Linked DNA regions of Homo sapiens: region 1 is linked to region 2. Evidence: promoter capture Hi-C in human tissues and cell types (Jung and others, 2019). All regions are on one chromosome and are shown on one strand. Each heading gives the region's core, a stretch centred on a gene start or on the middle of the fragment in contact. The rest is flanking DNA. Distances are from core to core; before and after follow the strand shown.

Region 1 (4,533 bases), core at 869-3,368, 120 kb after region 2:
TACACAATGTGAGGTCTTCTAGGTCTTTAAGGAGGTGGCTCATCTCTCTCTTGAGCGCAAGCCAGTTCCCAGCAGATACCTTTGTCCCATACCCCAAGCCTCTTGGGTTTAGGAATCTGCTACTTCTGCTCCAACCTTGAAACATTGGGATCTATCCTGATGCTGTTGTCTCCTGACACTGTTGTTCCCTCCCTAGGGTGCTATGGACATGAAATGGAGGAGTCTTGTCACCTCCCGGAGGAGGTCCTTTACTCTCCAGATGCCCTTTACTCTTGAGACTCCCTCACTTGCATCTCCTCCCTCTTTACAATTACTGGGAAGCTCCCCCATTCCCAGTCCCATTCCCAAGAGGCATCCTGCCTTCTACACATGAGAGGCATCTTGGAATTGAAACTGAGAAGCAAAATATCTTTTCCAGTTATTTCATACAGGTATTTTGACTTCACTTGAGTGCTTCACTCATTCTTACTCAACTCACGTCTTTCTATAAGGTGCATAAAGTTGGGGTTGTGTTTACTGATTAGTGTTAAGCACTAACAAATCTTAACAGGCGGCACTATGTGATTTTTTAAGACATTCTAATTTCTTACTGGGAGGCTATGGAGAAAGTGCTCCTCATTTAAAACACAATTTTAGAAAACCATCATGGGTAAAAATGACAAGGCTGGTTGAAGTAATAGAAAACATTTCTATATGCATTACACTGTTATTCTCAAGGTGCTTAATATTTCTTACTAATGCTTATCATCAGTTACTGTGTGCATTCAGCTTCACTGTACAGATGGTGTAACTGGGTGCTACGTGACTAACTCTTGATTGCCACGTCCCTTGGTGTCTCCTCTGTCTCCCGTGTTTCAACTGAACACACAGCTGAATCCGGGAGATCAGAATAGCAGCTTCTTTTATTTTTAGGACCAGTCTCTGATGCTTTGACTCTCTGAATGAGCCTCATGTTTCCCAGGAGCTCTCTGTAAATTAAATTTTGCTGTGTTTACTGCTTTAACTTGGAAATGTGTTGGCTCATGTTCTTGACTACAAGAAATCACAGTCCACTTAGGTCACATAAAAAACCTTACTATTAATTTAGCGCTTGGCAAACATACCTATGTCCATGGATCTCTTCCATATTTGGTAGGATCATGGAACCTGCTTAATGAAGACTTGAATGCCATTTGAATATACAAGAGGATTATGTGTCTGAGAAGAAGATAATGAGATGTAACACTTCCTACCAATGATGGCAGTGCAAATACAAGCTCCAAACTCCCATCCCGCTCTACAAGATCCTTTGTTTTCCTGTAACCAGGCATAGTTATCTACCTGGGATATAACCAGTATGGAAGGGAGGGAAAAGATAGAAGGGGTGCACTCACTCAGCTCTCTCAAAAATGCTGAGCATACCAACTGTCTAACAATTAAGATAAGCCAAGTATTTGGCTGACTAGCACTGGTCATCTTCATGCATTAAAGTCACCTGGAATATAATTTGTCCTGGGGATAAAATGACAGGATTATAAATCTTTAACCAGGCTTTTAAAAATCTGGTAAGATGGGAAGCTGAATTAGGTCAGAAGTCTTAGGCAACAGAACACAGTCTAAATCTTGAGCCATTTGCTTTGGGAATACCTGTGTAGGAATAGTTGTTGGGATGAATGTTTTCATTTGGAAACAAAACATAAACCCTAAATGTAAATCACTGAATTTTCTTCTAGCAGCATCAGAATAATGCATTACATTCATGCACAGGCTGCGGTATTATTGAGGCAGAAAGGCATTACTGTATTCAGTAATGTGCTGTGAAGATTTTCATTATTGCATCTCAGCAGGCTTGGTTCTAGGCAGAAAGATGAAGTGGGTGAAATCAGCCTTTGCTACTTCCTGCAAATGCAGGCTGGCTGCTCTCCACCGGCCCCATCCGGACACTGCCCATCAGGCTCCTGGCTTCTTATCCCATCGCCTGGAGGCTACTTTTTGTTGGGGCGGGGAGCAAGATTTACATTTGGGCTCTTTCAGTATTTATACTTCTGGCTCCCATTAATTAACACATTTTCTAATGAATTGACTGTGATCTCCTGTTACTGTCTAATTGCTTTTACTGTTCTTTTCTTGGTCAGACCAGCACTACTGGAGAGACTCCCAGGAGTTTCTCTGGGTGGCAACATCTCCCATCTGTGTGCCCCGGTAAGGAGGGACACACTTACTCTGCCATTGAATGCACCCTCAGTTTATTGGCCTTGACTCTGGTCTGGCTGTGTCAGCTAATGCTCCAGCAGGAAGGTCTACAGACCTGAACTGGGTGATTTGAGGAGAGTTCAATAAGGGGACTCTTTTCAGAGGTGAGGGCAGGGCATTGTATAGGGAAACCACAGGAATAGTGCAATATCCTAGGGGTAGTTACAGCAGGGAGCCAATATTAATTCTACATCTGAAAGGGAAAGGAAGAAGAGCATTTCTGGGAACCTGGAAGCAGAGCCAGCTCTGTGGAGAGGGTCATCTTACAGGAATTGTGGCTTCAGATGAGAGACCTGGCCAGATCATGATGCACAGTAGGAAGGGAGGCAGGAAGGAAATGGCCACCCTTTCCACCCTCCCTCTGATCTTCTGCCAGTCCTCCTCTTTGGCCAAATCCTTCTGGAAGCCTGCTGACGTGGTCCATGCAGGCCAGCATGCCTTGGCTGAGAGCATGGGTAGATGGAAATGTCCAGCACAAGGGCTCTCAAGCATGTGACACCATTACATCCCTAAGAGACACTAGGTTGCCGTCTCTTGGTGAGTGCCATTTTGCAAATCAATTGGATTAAGATCTCAGTTGCTCAGACATTAGTGAATTGAATGTCAAATACTACTTTGACTATCAGGGGAATTTTTATGTTGATGCCCACGAAATTAAGGGTAATAATACCTGTAGTTGGTTATACCCTGGTTCAGAAATGAAGTAATTTTTCTTTTGCAGTTAGCTTCCTATTATATGTGAGATAGCATTACTTCATGTATCAACATCTATGCAAATTGGCAATTTAAGAAAAAGGACTGAAAACTAGGAAGGCTAGAATGTCATAGAATCTTGGACTTGGAATACAGCATCCCATTTGTTCTCCTACTTAGAGCAGAAATCCCTTTTAAAGTGCCTGCAGTAATCATTGCGCCCCTCCCATTGTGAGTATGAGGACTCGCAATTCCACCCATTCCCATTGCCATCAGGTGTAAATGTTATAAAGAGTTTCCTTACACTGGGCAGAAATCAACTCACTGTTCCTTTCACCAGTTGTTCTGATTTTTCCCTGAAGAGCTACATTGCTTAAATCTCATCATCCTTCAAATATGTGAAGACAGCCATCATTTCTCCCTGACACCTTCTCATTTCCAGGCGAAACATTCCCAGTTTCTGCAACCTGTCCTCATAAGTACAATTTAATTCAACCAACATTTTTTGAGCCCACAGCTATTGGCAAGGCTCCAGGCAGGCACACCTATGAAGCTTACAGTGTGGCTGGGGAGAGGAATGTAAACACTTATGCAATACAAGATAGAATGGAATGTGTTGAGTAGAAGTTTAACTCACATACTTCTAAGTTTTCATACAAGTTGTTGGTAAAAATGTTAATAGGAAAGAAACAAGGAAGGGGCCTTGTAGCATGTCAAGAAAGAGCCTTCTTTAGGTTGAGACCAATTAGCTAACTCACATCAATGGGTACTACCATTCAACCTACTCTTGGCTTTGGTCATCTTATCTGTCCCATCAAAACATCACAGGGACCTTTGTCTTGTATTGCTGAAACCAAAATTCATTATGTCTGTCCCAACAATTGCCAATAGGCAGGTTACACACCTCCATAGTGGGAGTGCGTTAGAACCTCAATGGGAGGGAGAGAGAGAGTGATGTGAGTTTTTTTTTTTTTTTTTTGAGACAGAGTCTTGCTCTGTTGCCCAGGCTGGAGTGCAGTGGCGCTATCTCGGCTCACTGCAAGCTCCGCCTCCTGGGTTCATGCCATTCTCCTGCCTCAGCCTCCTGGAAATGTTTTATATTCACCAGAAGAGGGGGACATGGCTTGAAATATAGTTGAGAAACAAATAATTATACTTAAGTGTTAAAAATTATGAAAGCTAAATGGTAGTACATAGGTATTCTTTATGTTATTCTAAATGGTATTTTTGAAATACCTCAATGTTTATGGAAGGAGGAAATAAACACTGCCTTGGTCCATAGTGGAACCTTAATGGTGGAGTATGGCCATGGGCAACTCATGAGCTGCTGAGACAAGTGGTTGGGGACATTGGTCTATGGTTAGCATTCTCTTGTTGTACCTGTTCAGTTTCATTGTTAAAATTGTTCTCTCATTGAGTTAAAGCAAAATAAACAGCCATCTCTGGGTGAGGTCAGTTGGGAGTCTCTGGGTCCTGAATCACTGCTGGCAGGGGTGGCCGTAGGGAAGGCGGGTCTGCCAGCTCTACTTGAGATTATGCTTCCAGCACCTGTAACTCCTGGTTCATCACCATCAACACTAAGGCTGAAAATTGCAGCCCTGCCTCTAT
Region 2 (4,262 bases), core at 1,414-3,913:
ATAAACATGCTTACTAAATTTTCATCATAATGAAATATGTTAGGTTTATATAATCTCTTTTTCCAACATTTCAGTTGAAGTGAACATAGGTGTTAGATATGCCTAATATTACAGAAATATTGGTTGACCCTTTGCTCTTCCAAGTGATCTTAGGGCAAGGACTCAGGCTGCCTTCTCCCTTGACTACTTAGGGCAGAGGGAGGACTATGTGAGTGGGCCAGCATGTGCCCCTGTGGTGGACTGGTGGTCAAGGGGGGATGTTATATATAAATCCAATAAATACAGCATATGATTAATTCAGGGTAACTTGGTAGTGCTATTCTCCCTTTATTTATTGCTTTTCCTTTTTGAAAAGTAGCATATTTGCAATTAGCAAGTATAACAGATATCTTATTGAGACCTGTGCCATAATTGTATGATTTTTGGAGTGCAGTGATTATTTATAGGCGTAATCAGGGTGGACCATGGCCTCCAACTTCCAAGCTCAAGTGATCCTCCCGCCTCAGCCTCTGGAGTAGCTGAGACTACAGGTGCACCCCACTGCACCCAGCTTGATTTTTAAAATAAAATCAAATTGTTGATTTTTGAGAGAACAAACGGTTTAAGTTACTCCCATTCAGTAGCAGCTGCAAAATTAGGAGGGGGTTTAAGGGTGACCGTCTGGTTGTCAGAGTGTGTTGGAAGCTGAGTTTGAATTTGCACATCACTTTACATGGATTGAGAAGATGTCCTCCACCCCCCCGCCCCGCCCGACCTTTATTTTTGAGACAGAGTCTCGCTGTGTCACCCAGGCTGGAGTGCAGTGGTGAGATCTCTGCTCACTGCAACCTCTGCCTCCCGGGTTCAAGTGATTCTCGTGCCTCAGCCTTCAGAGTACCTGGGATTAAAGGCATGTGCCACCACACGTGGCTAATTTTTGTATTTTTAGTGGAAATGGGGTTTCACCATGTTGGCCAGGCTGGTCTCGAACTCCTGACGTCGTGATCTGCCTGCCTTGGCCTCCCAAAGTGCTGGGATTACAGGCGTGAGCCACCGCACAGGCCCTACTTTCTAAATAAAAAGGGAGGGGTCTTTTTTTGGGAGGAGGTTAAGGCCCGCAGCTCCCCTTGATATGGCCGCTGCTCTCAGGCACTTAATCCATTATTTCAACAAATGTTTAAAGAGCACCTACTATGTGCTTCAATTATACAAAGATGATACAACCTCTGTCCCTAGAATGACCACAGCCCAACAGAGAGACTGAGGGCGAAATGTGCAAACCCTGGGTCCTCCAAATACTTAAGATTCAGAGCCAGGTTGTCAGAGGTTCTCCTTTGTTCTGGCTGAATAGTAACACTGACAGGGACCTGCCAGTTTCAAGTTATTCCAGTTATTCGGAAAAGTGAATTGTTCCAAGTGGCGTCAGTGCACGTTAGAACGTGGGCCCGCGTCATGGTGTTCGTGAAGACTGGAAACAAGTGGGACCCCCGCCAGCACAGCTCATGCAACTGCTTCCCCTCCAACAGTTTCGCCCATCCCGACTCAATTGAGGGACCCGAGACGTTTCTTCTCTGGGCCAATCAGAACCCAGTCAGCATCTCTCTGATGCAACTGTTCCCTTATAAAACGATTAAACGTGGACCAGCTATTTTTATTCGGTCCTATAAAAATAGCTGCCGTCAGTCAGTCCTGGCGGGGAATCAAGGCCTCTGCTCTTCAAGTGCGCGCCCCAGTCGGCCGTGTCCTGATGTTACTTTCCCAGCCATTGGCATCTGGGGGCGCAGCTGGACCCACAGCTCCCAGACCGCGTTGTGTTCCACTGACAGAGTCTCCTAGGGAAAGGGAAAGGTGCATTTGCTCTCAGGCTCCGCCTAGGACACACACACCAAGATCTTCCCGGGCTGCTGGTAAAAGCCAGGATGCAACAGCCTGAGGGTCCCAGAGCGAGGAAGAAGGATCAATCAGGTCCCCCGGACGCACTTAGTTCAGCAGGAGTGGCGGGCTGTGGGGGTGGGAGGTAGCCCCAGGGCCTTTGATGTGGGCACACGCTCCCCCAGCCCGCCGAATCGGTTCCTCCCCTAACAAGGGATGTGGACACGGTTCATCTGCCTTCCGGTGTGCCTGAGCAAGAACTGTGCAACCTATCTCCACCCCCTCCGTCCCCGGTATGAGCACTTTTGATTCCTCCCCAGACAAAGCCAATCTGAACTCCAGCAGAATGAATAAAGGGATCAGGTTGCTCTCCCGGCCTCCCCTCACCTCCCTCCTCGCTTCTCCCTTTCCCCACGTGACTCTCTGGAATTTCGCCAAAGCTCCGAGTCTCTGGGTCCATTTTCACACCGAGCAAAGCAGAGAGGAAGGAGGCAAGGGAGACTAGAGGAAGGCTGAACGTGTGTCCTTTAAACACGGGGTCCAGACCCGGCGTATTTTGGGCGTTTCCAGGCTCTCTCGCCAGAGTGGCCTTGAGTTTGGGGGTCTTTTCCAGCCTCGCTAGCTTTTTCCTCCGTGCAATTAAAATTATGGCTCTTCTTCCACTCCCGTAATCATTGCACCTCTACCCTGCAGACCTCCTCCGGGGTGTTCAGCGCGGAGGTGGGTGTTGGTGTGCAGCAAGCCGCGTCCCCGCAGCCCTCCTCACCCAGGCGAGGGGCGGGGACGAGAAAGTAGCAGCAGCGCCCCCCAGTCTTTCCTCTGAAGCTTCCGAACAGTCTGCTTCAGGGAGCGCAGCCTGAGGCGGTGTGGTGCGGTGCGGCTGCAGGGCGGGCGAGTCCCCGGAGCTGCCCTCAGCGCTGCACAGTTTCCAGCGAGCGGACCCCGGCAGATGAGGTCTGCCGAGCCGGGTGGCTCGACCAAGGAGTGGGTGTGGGTGGGTCTTTCGGGGCTCCCGGCGACCCGCGGTGCCGACGCAACGCCGACGTATGGTGCCAAGCGAACTTTAAAAAGCTGCTTCGGACAAACCAGAGCCAGGATTTCCACTGTCGGGGACCCGGGATCGGAAGGGTCTAGCCCGAGGGAAATGCTGGAAGATCCCATCGGCCAGTGACCAGCAACTTTCCGGCGAGATTTTGACGCGGAGAACTGTGCTCTGCCTCCTCTTATTCTCCCAAAGCTCACGTTGGCGTCCTGCCTTGCGGGGGAACTCGGCGCGCTCTCTGCCTGAGCAGCGAGTGAATTGAACCCCAGCCCGCTCCGGCGCCTCCGGGCTGATGAGTGTCGCTCTCCGCCCGTCCATCTCTTTTTCCCGGAGGTAAAGGCCCGCGGTCCCCCACCTTCAGTGCGCCCGGGTTCCAAGCGCCGGAGCCAGCGTTTTGGCGGAGCCGCTTCTTGGATGCTGAAGGCTGGGCTCCTCCATCGTGGGTGCCGAGGCGGCGATGGGTGTCCTCAAAGTGTGGCTCGGGCTGGCCCTAGCGTTGGCGGAATTTGCAGTATTGCCTCATCATTCCGAAGGTGAGAGAGCGGTGCCGCGTGTGTGTGTGTGTGTGCGTGTGCGTGTGTGTGTGTATGTGTGAGTGATCGTGCAGTTTAAAAATCTCAGCAGGTTTTATGGTATTTCGGTGAGGTGGAAGTTTTTCTGGGAAGGGTGAGGTGGAAGTGAAACTGGAATAGGCTTTTTCTGATAAGATTCCTACTCCTGATTGTTTTGTATTCGGATTACACCCCCGAAACGGCCTCCCTCTCTGCCCTAAGTGCTTTTGGGTGGGTGGGTGGCCGATGGAGGTGACATCTCTGAAACTGATCCTTTTTCTTTCCACCACCTACCTTTCCCCGAAGGGAAAGCAACTGCATGGAGCACAGGTGAGGAGCGAACAATTGCTCTTACCTGTTTAAAAATACTTCTGTTCCTAAGAAACATACAGTCTTTCATCTTAAAGCCCCATCGCTCTCCCGCCCTCCTTACCTCAGTTAGTCTCCCCCTAAAGTCCAGTTAGGATTTTATAACTAACTGGTTGGAGCGTGTTCTGGTCGTGGGCAGTTCAGTTGCACTGAAAGAAATCTCTCCAGTACGGAGAAGCACGAACCAGCCTGCTTCCCAGAACAAAAGTGGTTAATAAGAGTTTAGGTTCATTCTTTTACTTCACCCTCCGCCTCCTGGTTTTCCTCCGAGGCTCCAAGCTACCTGTAAAACCCCGGAGCCGCAGGAGAGAAAAGGAAGCCGTGAGACTAGTTGTCGCCATGATATCAAATGCAATCCGGGCTCAGCCAAATAAATGAGTCAATAAGTAAATCAAGAGTTTGGGGTCATGGGATGCCGGGCCTGGGGACGCGAGGCGCTGTGAGCTCCC

What was found. The method cuts DNA at HindIII sites, captures the fragments that hold promoters and counts their contacts. A contact is called where the count stands out against the background at its distance.
Region 1: a fragment that was not itself captured here is called in contact with the fragment with the promoter of FRAS1 in region 2 in 2 of the 25 tissues and cell types used here (H1 embryonic stem cells and thymus).

The regions. Positions count from the first base shown.
Region 1 is chr4:78,173,202-78,177,734 of GRCh38, forward strand. The region is part of intron 2 of FRAS1 (Fraser extracellular matrix complex subunit 1); the gene reads left to right. Among named protein-coding and RNA genes, the nearest start is that of SNORD161, 110 kb to the right of the region's middle. The HindIII fragment of the contact is 5,977 bases long and covers 1-4,533 here.
Region 2 is chr4:78,054,660-78,058,921 of GRCh38, forward strand. FRAS1 (Fraser extracellular matrix complex subunit 1) reads left to right here and starts at 2,664. Exons shown (of 74, transcript NM_025074.7): 1 at 2,664-3,426. The coding sequence starts at 3,351. RefSeq lists an enhancer at 1,250-2,221. The HindIII fragment of the contact is 7,312 bases long and covers 1-4,262 here.